Regions from separate parts of the Homo sapiens genome. Here all the other regions are linked to region 2. The links are contacts of gene promoters, found by promoter capture Hi-C in blood cells and fetal thymus (Javierre and others, 2016). All regions are on one chromosome and are shown on one strand. The core of a region is centred on a gene start or on the middle of the fragment in contact, and the rest is flanking DNA. Distances in the headings are between cores, read along the strand shown.

Region 1 (4,469 bases), core at 1-2,500, 230 kb before region 2:
AGCGCACCAGACAGGCCACGTCCAGCCTTTCTCACCCACACTGCTGGAACGTTCCGTACGTGCCCAGCATCTCAGCTTTCTATTTCACTTCATGAGTTTAAGGATTCCCAAACCACACAAAATTCTAAACAATGAAATAAACTAGGTAAAACCAAGGAGAAGCATATAAAATTCAACACACTTAAGGTACATCTGAATAATGGGTTTTAGAATCCTGAGCCTGGAAAACCACCCGTGAGAGGGGGAAGTGCAGAGAAGAGCTCAGCACAGCCCCCGCTCACAACAGGCATGGCCTGGAGACCCCGCCCCCGGGGCAGACACGGCGCTGCCTCTCTCAGACCCTTCCCACACTGGTGCGCAGTGGAAATGTGGTGAGGTGCCAAGGTTCGTTTTTTTGAGACAGGGTCTTGCTGTGTCGCCCAGGCTGGAGTGTAGTGATGCAATCATGGCTCACTGCAGCCTCGACTTCCTGGGCTCATGCCATCCTGTGGCCTCAGCCTCCCGAGTAGCTGGGCCCACAAGCATGTGATACCACACCCAGCTTTTTTTTTTTTTTTTGGTAGAGACAAGGTCTCACTGTATTGCCCAGGCTGGTCCAAAGTCCTGGGGTTATGGCAGGTGTAAGCCATGCTTTTTTCCTTCTTTTCTTTTCTTTCTCTCTCTCCTCTCTCTCACCTTTTTTTCCTTTCTCTCTCTCTCTTTATTATCTATCTGGGATGGAGTCTCACCCGCTCTGTCTATCTATCTATCTATCTAAGATGCAGTCTTGGTCTGTCACCCAGGCTGGAGTACAGTAGTGTGATCTGGGCTCACTGTAACCTCCGCCTCCTGGGTTCAAGTGATTCTCCTGCCTCAGCCTCCTGACTAGCTGGGATTATAGGTGCGCACCACCATGCCTGGCTAATTTTTGTATTGTTAGTAGAGACGAGGGGTTCACCATGTTGACCAGACTGGTCTCCAACTCCTGACCTCCGGTGATCCACTCACCTTGGCCTCCCAAAGTGTTGAAATTACAGGTGTGAGCCACTGCACCCAGCCAAGCCAAGCTTTAAATCAGGCAATTCACAGAGCTAGAAAACGTGTTTTAGGTTGAACTATAATTCTCTCCTTTCCCCCCAAAAACTTAACTACTAAATAACAAATAAATCAGCAGGAAGCGAGGGCTCCCTGGGAGGGGTCGCGCGGGCCCGCCGTCCACTGGAATTCTTCATTCAGAGAAAGGAGACCGAGAAGAAGCCAGGGTGCCTCCGCCTGTGGGCCCAACGCTCCTGACGCGTGAGGGCTGGTCCAATTCTGCAACATGCATTCTGCAGCCAGAGGACACTGCCCACGGGACACCGCCCCAGGATGCGGACACAGGCCAGGGGCACAGCCCCCGCATTCCAGAGCGAGAAGAAGGGGTGGCACTCTCCACGAGGCTCCTGCATCCCTGGCCCTTTATAATCAAAGCTTTGCTCGACTCACAGTAAGAATAGGCTGGTCTGCCTCCCTTCCTGGGGGAAGCACCCTCTGGGCTCTGCTGCCACTGGGCACTCAGCGGCCCTCGGTCTGACAGCGTCCCAGGCCTGTGGCCGAAGCGTAGTCAAGTTGTCCGTTTGGTTTTCAGGGACTTTGAACAAGTATTATTTTGACAATGATGCTACCGTCTAATACACACATATTAGGTTAGGTTTCATCTCAGCATTTTGCCTCAACCACACTCTGTTCAGTAAACAAACAAGGCAACCACTTGTTCGCACACAGAAAAGCAAAGGAGGCCAAGTTCAAACTCACCCAGCTCCCGAGCCAGAGAGAGGAGGTAAGGGGAAGTTCGCAGTTCACAAGAGCGGCAGGCACAGCTGCTTCAGCAGGTGGAAGGGCACGATAAGGTGCAGGCAATGCAAATGCTCATCCTCCTGGGGCAGGCACCAGGCCTGGCGCTGGAACCCGGAAGGCCGGTGGGACACCTGTCAACGGGCATCTGTGCTGAGGTCCCAGGCTGTGTGTATAACGCTTCCCACAGGCACAACACTCAACACTCAATGGGGGAAGGGAAGCATGTTCATTTACAAGCTAAAGACAACATTATCAAATAAAGCTGTGAGCCTTATCTCCCGACAACGGGCAGCAGTGACCCCATGACCCTGTCGAGTCTCCTCCCACACACCACGCCCCCTCTGTGGGATCTGTGCCCATGTTCAGCAGGTTCTCTCTCTCCAGCACATCTCTTTCATTAACTTGTGAGGGGAAAGCTACTGTGTTATTGTCTGTGGTTTGTACTAAACAGTTTTGTTTTCTGCTCTTAGTTTGAAACCGTCACAACACTTCATAGTTGTCTAACAAAACAAACTTCATGACAATGAAAATTGTCAGAGCCAAAGTATGTTTTGTGCTTGAGACCCTCAACTACTGGCCTTGGTTTTTGCTTGTTTGATTTGGGTGTCTGGTTTCCCCACTAGCCTGGGGCTCTTTTGTTTTTTTTTTGAGACGGAGTCTCGCTCTGTCACCCAGGCTGGAGTGCAGTGGCACGATCTCGGCTCACTGCAAGCTCCGCCTCCCAGGTAGCCTGGGGCTCTTAATGAAGTCCCCTGTCCCAGCCAGCTGAGGGATCTCCTGCCTCTGGCCCAGGCAGGAGGAAAACGAGCCACGCAGGGCCCTGAACCTCAGCACAGCTCCGCGGGCTGCTTGGACGTCCTGTGTGAGTCTTCTCTGAATCCTACCAAACGGTCAGTCCTGCAGGCCACATCATCTCCTGACGCGAGGCACCCATGTTCTAGAAGCCCTCCACAGCTGTTCAGAGGCAGGGCAGTGGCTGGTCCGCCCACACACCTGGACTCTGCTACCATAGAGAAACCCAGAGAATGGCAAGAAAACAACTGGGCTTCACCAGACACAAGACACGAGATCGGCACGTGGGCTGTGCCAGCTTCAGAAAGCAGCAAACCAGGGCGGCCCCACCACGCTTCCTTCCTCACTTCCAACCGATCCTGCACTGCTTTACAGGTGTGAGGGCACAGAAACAAGGAGAATCCACACACAGAAAACCGACTGGGCACTGGGTGCTCTGGGTTACGGCCCCGAGGCCAGACTTCCGCTGCTGAGAGCCACAGGGAGTGCCTTGGGTGCTCGGAGCAGGGGACGGTGCTTTCTGGGGTGCTAAGGAGCGGAGCACTAGGACGGCCGGCGACACTCACTCAATATAGAAGGTGCCTGTCATTGTGTGTAGCTGTTTCTCAATATGACAGAAGCACATAAAAGGGGGATGACGGCTTCCCTCTAACTAAAGCTGCTGCTCAGAAAAGGTTTCTGCAGACCACAAAGAACCGAGTTCTGACAAAGCGAGTTCAAGCTCGTGCTGTGCACACGGTAACCACACGCTGAGCACACGCTAACCACACGCTGAGCACACACAGCACACACTACCAGAGCACAGCCCCCCTTTTGGCATTTCTACAAATTCCTGAGTCACCCCGCAGGGCGAAGCCACGGAAGAATAAGAGTGGATTCCCCACAAAACCCAGAGCTCAGCAGAGCTGGTGATGCTGACGTGCACAGCTGGGCTGGGCAAACTCAAAGTGCAGGCTGAGAAGAAACTGCTGTTCTCCTGCGCGGAATCCAGAGCGCTGCCTGTGGGTGGGCACTCCTGCCACCAGCCCCTGGGAGGTGACAGATGTGACTGGCCCCGTGTGACATGGTCCCAGCTCCCAGAGAGCCCACGCGCTATGAGGAGAGGCCACGGGCAGGAGGAACGGACGGGGGCCTGGTGGGGAGGCTTCCTATGGAGGGTGAGAAGGGCCTGGCCTAGCCAGAGTCGGCCGAGGGAAGGGGGGAGTCCTGGCACCTACAGCTGTGTTCACTCGGGGTGTCTAGGGCACAGATGCCGGGAAGTCACATTGCTGGGTCATCTTTAATTTTGAGAAATACTGACAAAGTCCCCTCCAACGAGGTGCTGATTTATTCTCCCACCAAGCATGTGGAAAACGGAACCAGCCCCATCAAACCAGCTTTTCAGTCCCTCAGGCTTGGGACAATGAAGTGCCCAGTCATCAGTTCTCTTCAGCACAGAGGTTGAATCTTCACGGTCATCGGATCAGAGCCCTGCCTCGAACACGCAGACAGAGCCTACTCAGGGCAGATGGCTGTGCGCGGTCTTCCTGCACACCTCCCGGTCCAGAGGCACCCCAGCTTCCTCAGAGAGAACCTCACCTTTCAACCACTGGGACCCCTTCTACCGTGGGGCTCCCCATCACCACCAGGAGCACAGTGTGGAGGGACACTGCCCACCAGACAAATGCAGTTCAGTCAGGGGCTTCCACCCTCAGCCAGCTTCATACCCCTGCTACGCAGCACCCTGATAACCCGAGGTCAGCGGCGTCACCACGTGGCTGGGCAAGGACTCTAGTCAGAAGCTGAGAAAGGTGCCTGAGCCAGGACAGCCTCCTTGGTGAAGGCGTACTGGAACCACTGAAAACAGTGGCTCTCCAGCCCTC
Region 2 (4,548 bases), core at 2,049-4,548:
CTGGGGCCCCAGGGGCCAGGCTGCCATGAATCCTCAGGCCCGGCTCTGGAACAGGGTGTATTTGAAGAGTGTCACTGGAAAGGCCAGGGTCGGAGCCGTCTGTCCCCTGCCAGGCAGCTGGCAGGAGCCCTGGCCGGGCCTTGTGTGTCAGCAATCTCAGACAGGGTGAGGATGACAAGGTTTTCCATGGCCGGGGCCCGAGCTCAGAGGGGCATGCGTCAGGGCCTGGGCCGAGTCCAGCAGACTCTGGTCTTGGATGGAACTGGTTGCAATCCTGCCTCTGACAGGGAGGTGGAGGCACGGGTGCTGGCAGACCCTCCAACACACAGGCACAGACACACGGGGCAGGGGGCTCCATCCCAACAGGAGGATCCCAGGCTGAGGCCGCACTCCACCCAGCGTACCTGTCCTCGGTGCAGATGTGGGCGCTGCCCCTGAGGAGCTTTGGTTTCTAAGGGGAGAGCTGGCCAAGTCATCAACACTGGACGGACAGCAGGAAAGGCGTGAGGACAGCGGCTCTCGAGGGAGGAGGAGCAGCCCGGCAGCCCTCCCGGAAACAGTGGCACCGTGTTCGCAGGGGGAACAGCGTCCAGGGACCACGCACACGTAAGTGTGTGGCTGTGCGGAGCCAGGGAGAGGGGAAGGGGCGTCCAGGGCCATAGCCAGGTTCCAGACAAGGCCCATTCCTCCCCGACCTCATGAGCCTGCCCCAGAAAATCCTCTGGGTGGTGAACAGATGGGGTGACAGCATGGTCTTCAGTCAGCCTCCTGGAGGTGGGAAAAGAAAACAGAATTTCGGGACCTAAAACGCACTAAGCCAAAGGGAAAAGTCAAGCTGGGAGCCGAATCACACACACCTGCCTCCCATTTTCTTCCTAATTGGACAGCCACGAAGATGAAGAAGCCTGTGCCTCCTCGCATCGCGCTTACAGGGAAATTCCTTGTGGGTCCCAAGATCTTGGCTCTGAAACAGTTCTGCTGGATCCCACCCAGATAGTGTGATCTAGCAGCTTATCTTCCCAGGTATGGGACAAAGGACAGAGCTAACGTTACCCTCCGCTCACCGGAGGCGAATGCGAACCTGCCAGCTTCCTATTCCCTGTGGCAGTTTTATCTTCTGTGGAAACGCAGAGTCGCTGAGCGTGGGGCTACGTAATTCTCTTCTCTACCCCCACCTTCCACATTTCAAAATGTGCATTTGGTGACTGCCAATCAGAGATTCAAAGGAACGCTACCACTTGCCTTTTATCCGCCCTCCCTTTTCTTTCCTTCCTGTGTTCCCCTCCTGCCCGCTCTTTCCCTTTAAGTATAAAAGTCTCCAAACCCTCTTTGGGTTTTTTTGTTTTTGTTTTTTGAGACAGTCTCACTCCGTCGCCCAGGCCGGAGTGCAGTGGCGCGATCTCGGCTCACTGCAACCTCTGCCTCCCGGGTTCAAGTGATTCTCCTGCCTCAGCCTCCCAAGTATCTGGGATTACAGGCGCCCGCCACCATGCCTGGCTAATTGTTTTTGTATTTTTAGTAGAGACAGGGTTTCACCATGTTGGCCAGGCTGGTTTTGAACTCCTGACCTTAAGTGATCCGCTCACCTCGGCCTCCCAGACTGCTGGGATTATAGGCGTGAGCCACCATGCCCGGCCTCCAAACCCTCTTTGGAAAAAGCAGAGCACAGATGTTGCCTGTGGCTTCGTGTTTCTTTTTCCTGGGTGCACCCTTAACCTTGGCAAGATACACCTCTAAACTGATTGATTGAGACCCATCTCAGACACCTTCTGGCTTTTACAGAGGTGAGAACAGACTGGGTGCAGGAGCCTGGGTTCCCAGGCTGTGGCAGCCTCCATGTCCACCTGCTCCCCGAGCCCCCAGCCCAAGATGGAGGAAGGGCCGCCCTGCGTGGGTGGTGCATGGTGCAGCAGTGCAGCTCCAGCCTAGGCCACGCCCTGTCTCTCTCTCCTCCCCCAGTCCCAAATTCCCAGGAATCCCAGCCCCACTGGCTAAACACCGGGGTGCAGTCACAGAGAGGATGGCCTCGGCCTGGGGGTAGGAGCTGTGCAGGGGGCCCCGTCTCCCACCACCAATGGCAGGGGTAAGAGCCATGCATGACCCCCTGGCCCCGAGTCCTTCACAGAGTGGGTGGGAGACGGCAGCACTGGAGATGAAGGCCAGAGCAGACTCCAGCAGCCGCGGTGGCAGGTGCAGAGGGAGGCGCAAGGGCGGACACGGGTCACCTCCTGCTGCAACCCTGCATGGGTGAAGCCAGGTGCAGACACCACCGGATGCCCACTGAATTCCGCCACAGTAACTCACGCCGTCACTCCCCACGGAGACCCCGCCCCACAATAACTCACGCCGTCACTCCCCACGGAGCCCCCGCCCCACAGCAGAATAATTCTGGCCTCATGGAAGTGGCTCCCACCTAAAAGATGACCCAGACCAGGTGCGGTGCTCACGCCTGTAATCCCAGCACTTCGGGAGGCCGAGTCGGGCGGATCACCTGAGGTCAGGAGTTCGAGACCAGCCTGGGCAACATGGTGAAACCCTGTCTCTACTAAAAAGACAAAAAAAATTAGCTGGGCATGGTGGCAGGTGCCTGTAATCCCAGCTACTCAGGAGGCTGAGGCAGGAGAATCACCCGAACCTGGGAGGCAAAGGTTGCCGTGAGCCGAGATCGCGCCACCGCACTCCAGACTTGGCAACAAAGCAAGACTCCTGCCTAAAAAAAAAAGAAAAAAAAAAAAAAGGCCCAGAATAAGGGTTAGGGAGGCAAGGGTCCCTGGGGACTCCATGGGGGTCAGGATGCAGAGACAGCTGTTGCTGCCCCTCCTCTGGGCCCAGGACCCCGCCCCAACCTGCCTCGGCCCTCTCATCCCATGCACCTGCTCTCGGTCTCTGCTCAGGCCCTGCCTCTCCTGGTCGGAAGCCACCTCTCCAGCCTGCTTGGTCCCTGGTACTAGAAGAAACCACTCCCGTGTTCCCACTTAGATCGAGTGTTCATGCAGTGTGGCGTTCGTGCCGTGTGGATGCTGCTGAGGTGTGAACCCTGTCACAGACCAAGGCTCCAGTGAGCCACAGCGTGGCCAGGCGGAAGCAGAAGAGACCGGTGACCCCCACTCAACTCAGCCTCTCCTTCCTCCAGGGAGAGTGTCCTGGAGGTACCTGTCCGAGTGACAGGGAAGGGGCGGGGCCGGGAGCCAAGGCTGGAAGCTCAGCCCCACTCAGCCTTTGCAAATGCTCTAGTGGGAGCAGCTGGCCTCAGGGGAGGGCTTAAAACTCCAGGAGAGCCTGGGCAGGTGCGGACGCGAGGGGAGTGGAGGGGAGGCCTCGCCTGGCCCACCTTCCTCCTGCCCCTCTACCATGTGGCCCTTCCCGAGCCGCTCTCTCTTCCCACCCCCGACTCAGGCCTGGCTCCAGACGGTCTCCTCAGACCCTGAGGCCCAGGGCTGGGGGGCCTGGAACGAGACCAAGGAGATTCTGGGGCCAGAGGGTGGGGAAGGGAAGGAGGAGAAAGAGGAGGAAGAGGATGCAGAGGAAGACCAGGATGGGGATGCAGGCTTTCTGCTGTCTCTGCTGGAGCAAGAGAACCTGGCTGAGTGCCCATTGCCTGACCAGGTAACAGCTGTGTGGAGGCCCTGGGGATCTCAGGGGACCTGGGGCACAGGGGCTGGTGGAGACACGGGGTCTGGGTGACGGATGGCTGCAGCTGACTTAGGAGGGGAGAGGGCCATTGCCCACCTGCCTGGACGAAGGTGGCAAGGAGACCCCCCGCCCCCAGCCACACAGACTGCAGGGTCAAGGTGGCCTCTCTCGCCTGGGGAAGGGCCCTTGAGGTGCGGTTTCGGGGGCTTCTCTGCAGGGGCGAGTTCATCCCCAGCCAGCTGCCCCAGGAAGGAGTGTCCCTGTCCAGAGAAGGGCTGCCCCTTGGGGCTGTGACCCTCTGCTGGAGCTGGCAGGCCACACACCCACCTTCCTTGAGCAGAGCCTGCAGGCTGCCTGCCCGGCTCAGGGCCGTGTGTCGGCAGGAGCTGGAGGCCATCAAGATGAAGGTGTGTGCCATGGAGCAGGCCGAGGGGACGCCACGGCCTCCAGGAGTGCAGCAACAGGCCGAGGAAGAGGAGGGCACCGCGGCCGGGCAGCTGCTGAGCCCTGAGACCGTGGGTAGGAACCAAGGGCACAGGCCGCCCCCCACTGAGCAAGGGTCCCACAGTTTCCATTAAGGTTGGGCCTGGCAGGCTCCAAGGTGTCACCTCCCCTATAAGCCTGGGCGACCTTCCCCGTGAGAGGAGTGAGGAAGGAACCAAGGGCCTGCGGGCCTGAGCTGTGTTCTCCGCAGGCTGCCCCCTCTCTGGGACCCCCGAGGAGAAGGTGGAGGCTGACCACAGATCCGTCTACGTGGGCAACGTGAGTGGTGGGCGGGGTGAAGGGGCAGGCAGCGAATGGGGCCCCATCTCTACCAGAGGGTCTGGCGCCCGGCCATGGGCCAGGCAGCCTTGCTGGGAAGGGGGTCTGACCCTGGGGGCAGCCCCGTCACCTTGAGGAAACACTGGCCTGGGC
Region 3 (4,693 bases), core at 587-3,086, 180 kb before region 2:
CCAGCGCCTGGAGGGCGGCGCGGCAGCTGCACCAGAATGAGCGGCTGCGCGGAGAATCAGCGAGGCCATACGTCCCCGTCCCCGTGGAGGGACAAAGCATCCCAGCCCTGGCCCCCAGCAGCGCCGGCCCTCCAGGCGGGAGGCGGTTCCAGGAAGTGAAGTGAGCAGGTGCTGGGACTCCCCTCCCCTCCTGGAGGCGCCTGCCCAGAGTAGTCAGTGACCACCCCTAGGTCCCACCTGACGGCCCTGCCTGGCCAGGTGTGGTGGCCACTGGGACAGCCTCCCTCAGACCCGAGGCCACTGCCTGTGGGGTCCAGCGGCCTTGTCCTGTCTCAGCTGCCATCACCCCACCAGGCCCCCAAAATGTGCTCTGGGGCCCATCCCGCCACAAAGCCTGGGGTCTCACTGCTCCTCTCCTAGAACGGCCACTTTTCTTCTTTACGCAGGGGTCACGCTCCAGGCCTTTCTCCAAGCCCTCCCCGCGCTGGGACGCATTTACCCGCCTGCCTGTTGACTTCGGCTGGCACCCACTCCTGGGCTGCTCAGAGCTGCTGCTCCCTGTTGATGAGCACTGTAGGTGGCTTCGAGATGCACGCCTCGGGACGATCTGCCTTCCTCCCCCGCCTGCCATTCCCGCACTGACAAACGTCTGCCCTGGGTGTTAGGAGCGAGGTGCACATTGCACCTTACATCCTCATGGGCGGCTCCAGGAGCCTCACTGCAGCTGATGAGTACTTAACACCATCATCCATCTGTGTGGCCGTTGGGGCTGGCACAGAAGCTCTGGATGCCTCTACCTGGAAACCAGGGCTGTTCTCCCTGGATGGCAGGAAGGAAGCAGGTGGGAGGCGGGCGGAGGTGCTTGTTCCACCGGCACTCCTGGGTTCTGAGGACATGGCACTTCCCCGCCTGTGTCTTGCTTTGGCCATAGGTTCTGAGCTTCTGCTTCTCCTCTGTGGGTACGAGGGCCGCTCTGGCATTATGTCTTCTAGACCTGCGCCTCCTTCAGACGTCAGGGCCGTGCACTCAGACACCTCCAGTGAAAGCTTTTGGGGTTTGGATGGATGGACAGATGGACAAATTAACAGCATTCTGCACTTGGAATGACAAAACTTTAGGCAAGAAAAGGGTCATTGGAGAATATCTAGTCCAACACTCTAATGGGATAGAGAGGGAAACTGAGGCCAGCAGAAAGCATGTCACCTGACCCAGTCACAGCCCTTGGATACAGAGGGAAACTGAGGCCAGCAGAAAGGATGTCACTGGACCCAGTCAGCCCTTGGATAGAGAGGGAAACTGAGGCCAGCAGAAAGTGTGTCACCAGACCCAGTCAGCCCTTGGATAGAGAGGGAAACTAACGCCAGCACAAAGGATGTCACCGGACCCAGTCAGCCCTTGGCCTAGGACCTGCAGACAGGCCACCTGCTGCTTCTGTGACCCCCACAGCCCAGACTCACACATCTTCCTCCAGGTCAGGGAGTGAAGGGGTCTGCAGTCCTCTCCAACTGAGGGCAGGGACAGTCTCTACGTCCTGAGACCCCAGGCCCCTGACCTACCTGCCGGCCTGCCTGGCAAGGGCACACCTATCAGGTTGCACCATAAGGCCACCGGGCTGGGTCTGACTCACCCACAATCCATCAGCCTGCTGGTCTTTACACATTCTGGGAGAGGCAAGAATCTCTGTAGTTGCTAAAACACTTCCTCTTGGTTATTCTGAGAACTAAAAACACACATTATTTGAAAGTCTTGGGTTTAGTCTAATCTAAACCCCTCAGGTCGTGACTTAAGCTCTGGCCTCAGAGGTCTCCATTTATGCTTGGATGAGCCACTCCTTTGGTCTTTGTCCCCTCACTGGAAGGCATGTCCATGAGGAAATGGGGAGAAGAATATAGAGCTATGAACTTGGAATTTTGGTGTCAGAAGGACCTAGGTTCAAGTTCAGGCTCTATCACTAGCTAGGGACCTCACTTTCTTCATCTGTAGACTGACGATAATAATAGTACATACCTCAAAAGAGCTGTGCAGATTCAAAGTGATCCTGTGTCTAAACCTTTCTGTATGATGTCTGGTACCAAGTGAATGCCCAGAAAACGGGTAAGGATTGTTGTGATGATGATGATGGTGAGGATGGGGATAATGATGATGGTGATGATAGGGATGGTGATGACTGTGGGGATGGTGGTGATGGTGATAGTGATGATGATGGTGATGATGATGGTGGAGATGATGGTGTGATGATGATGATGGTGATGGTGGGGATGATGATGATGGTGATGATAATGCTGCTGCTTGCAGCGTGAGTGGACTTGGATCAGTGTGTGGATCCTCCCAGGACTTCCTCGGAAGTGCTGGGCACACATTTCCAAAAGGAGCCTCCTTCTCATGTGCAGCTACAAATAGCATGTCTAGCAGATTGGGGGCTGCCTAACCAATCCTTTCATCAGCGTCCCCATGGACAGGTCTTTAAGAAAGCTAAGGTCAGGACCAGGTGCCATGGGTGCTCCAGAGATCCAGCACAAAGCTGTGTCCTGCAGGTGTTTAGAGACAAGTGGGAAAGACATGCTGGACTTTGGGAATGTTAAGCGTCCATGCTCCACAAGAATAAAAGAGGCCTCATGAAGCTTCACAAGAGCAGTGGCCCAGGGAGCGAGGGGAGAGACAGAAGGCTGGGCAGAGGCAGTCGGTCTGGACAGGGCCCTGAGACTGGTTACCTGAGACAGAGGTGAGGAAGAGGACGTGCCAGGAGAGGGCCCCATGGTGTGCAAACTGAGGGCTCCTGTGTCGTGTGGTAGGAGGTGGCTGGAAGAATGGGGTAGGACAGGCCCCCACAGGCAGGAAGGTTGGGTTTCTCCAGTAAATGCAGAGCGAGGCCCTGTGAGAAAGGGTTCCAGTCTGGCCCGTCTTAGCTTTCAGAGTCACGGCTCCCGAGCCTGCCTGCTCCTTACTGGCCCCGCCCATCTCTGATGCCAGGCAGCCTCTGGCCTCTGTTTCCCTCTTAGTCAAACTCCGACTTTGCAGAGAAACTCCGTTCTGAAGCAAAATTTTACTTACAATGGCAATTTATAGCACATCTGCTTGGGAGGGGCCGTGGCTGTCGGGGCTGGTGGTGAGGGTGGCTGCAGCGAGGGTCCCAAGTGCCCTGCCGCCCCCACCCGCCCTGCATGGAGGCCCCTTGGCAGAGCTCCAGGCTCTGCTTCACACGGCTGGCCTGAGGCCGCCTGTCTGGACCCAGTCCAGCCTCTGTGGCTCCTGCCGCCTGCCATGGCCTTCACCCTAGCACCCCCATCTGAGGTTCTGACCTCTGGATATGAGCACCAAAGGCTCCTGGGGAAGCTCTATGTGCCAGGCTGGCAACGTGGGGTTCCGCAGTGGGGAAAAGGGGGTCTAGATGGTTGCTCATGGGCCCCCCTCTTCCCTCACCTTGGACCAGGGTGCAGAGCCGACTGCTAGTTGCTGCAGCCCTTTCCCGGGCCAGGGGGTGGCCGGCGGTCACTGCCGGGTTCCATCTGCTGGATGCAGGAGAGTGGCTCCAGATGCACTGGGAGGGCCGCGTTCGAATGTCAATTCCATCTTCTCACAATCATTTTCCGCATCTTCTTAGTGCCGGGCGAACGCAGCCTGCTCGTTTGAATGCATAATTAGCCCAAGCATTCTACCTCGCTAATTTCAAGGCAGGGGAAGGGAATGGAGGGGGGCTTGGGAATTTGCATATTAATTTAGCCGAGGGAGAGAAAAATTGTTTACCACTTCCTTCACACAGTTGCTCACAGAGGACTTAACTCTTTCCTGCTCCGCGTCTGGGGCTTGGGGGAGAGGGTGTGCATGGGAGGTGCGGCCAGCCCTCCCGCTGCGTCCACTCCAGGGCGGTCCCTGCACACAATGTGCTGGGCTCAGCCACAGCCCCCTTTCTTTGCAAGGACCACATGGGGGCTGTCTGGGTGCCAAACATGTACGGACAGGGGCTGCTGGGGACGCCCTCCTCGGCTGGTCCTCACCTGCAGTTTTCAGGAGCCAGAGACACCTGGATCCACAGTGTTCATCTATTTTCTCCACAATGCTCCCCCAGCCCCAGATCGGGCATCAGTACAGTGCTGGGTAGAGGGGGGGCACACACGCTGCCCCCACACCAGGGTGACAGGGGCAGCCGGCAGAGGGTGAGGTCCTGCAGAACCTTTGAGTCAGGGAGAGTAAGCGTCCACTGGGGGAGTCAAGGCAGGCTTCCTGTAGGAGGTGGTATCTTCCCTGGGCCTTGTAGGGTAAGCATGCTTCTCCAAGCGAGGGTGCAGGTGACTGGAAGGTCCTGGGGCCTAGGGCCACACCAGAGACCCTTGGGGAGTCTGGGCCATTTATCCTGACCCGATTTGAGTGAGGGCTTGTGAGGTCTCAGAAGTCGGGAAGGCTTGTGCAGGGCTCGGATGGTGGATTGCGGCCTGTGCCAGCAAACAGCCCAACTGCTCCTCGCCCCTGTCTAGTCTGTGGAGTGGAGAATAATTCTAAGGGTTACTAAGAGGTCTGCAGCGCATCCCCTTGGAAAGGGCCTGGTGCCCCACACCAACCTGGCAATACCGGTTCTCCCAGGAGATGGTTTCCACATCTGTGTTTCTATATAGAAATGATCATCCACCTGCATTCGACACCCCCAGGCACTTGTGAGACCAAATGGGGAGAGCGCATGGTGTTTTGCACGGCCCTG

Evidence for each region. Contacts are between HindIII fragments. The CHiCAGO score rates a contact against its expected background, and 5 or more counts as called.
Region 1: a contact is called between a fragment that was not itself captured here and the fragment with the promoter of PABPN1L in region 2, in 3 of 17 cell types (endothelial precursors, M1 macrophages and erythroblasts). The highest score is 6.2, in endothelial precursors.
Region 3: a contact is called between a fragment that was not itself captured here and the fragment with the promoter of PABPN1L in region 2, in 1 of 17 cell types (endothelial precursors). The highest score is 5.5, in endothelial precursors.

Annotation. Positions count from the first base shown.
Region 1 is chr16:89,096,068-89,100,536 of GRCh38, reverse strand. It overlaps ACSF3 (acyl-CoA synthetase family member 3), which reads right to left. Exons shown (of 11, transcript NM_001243279.3): 2 at 1,774-1,946. Among named protein-coding and RNA genes, the nearest start is that of ACSF3, 4.4 kb to the right of the region's middle. The HindIII fragment of the contact is 403 bases long and covers 1,049-1,451 here.
Region 2 is chr16:88,865,410-88,869,957 of GRCh38, reverse strand. It overlaps PABPN1L (PABPN1 like, cytoplasmic), which reads left to right and starts at 3,298. Exons shown (of 7, transcript NM_001080487.4): 1 at 3,298-3,606; 2 at 4,017-4,152; 3 at 4,328-4,395. The coding sequence starts at 3,352. The HindIII fragment of the contact is 14,417 bases long and covers 1-4,548 here.
Region 3 is chr16:89,043,574-89,048,266 of GRCh38, reverse strand. No RefSeq gene overlaps it. Among named protein-coding and RNA genes, the nearest start is that of ACSF3, 48 kb to the left of the region's middle. The HindIII fragment of the contact is 1,575 bases long and covers 1,049-2,623 here.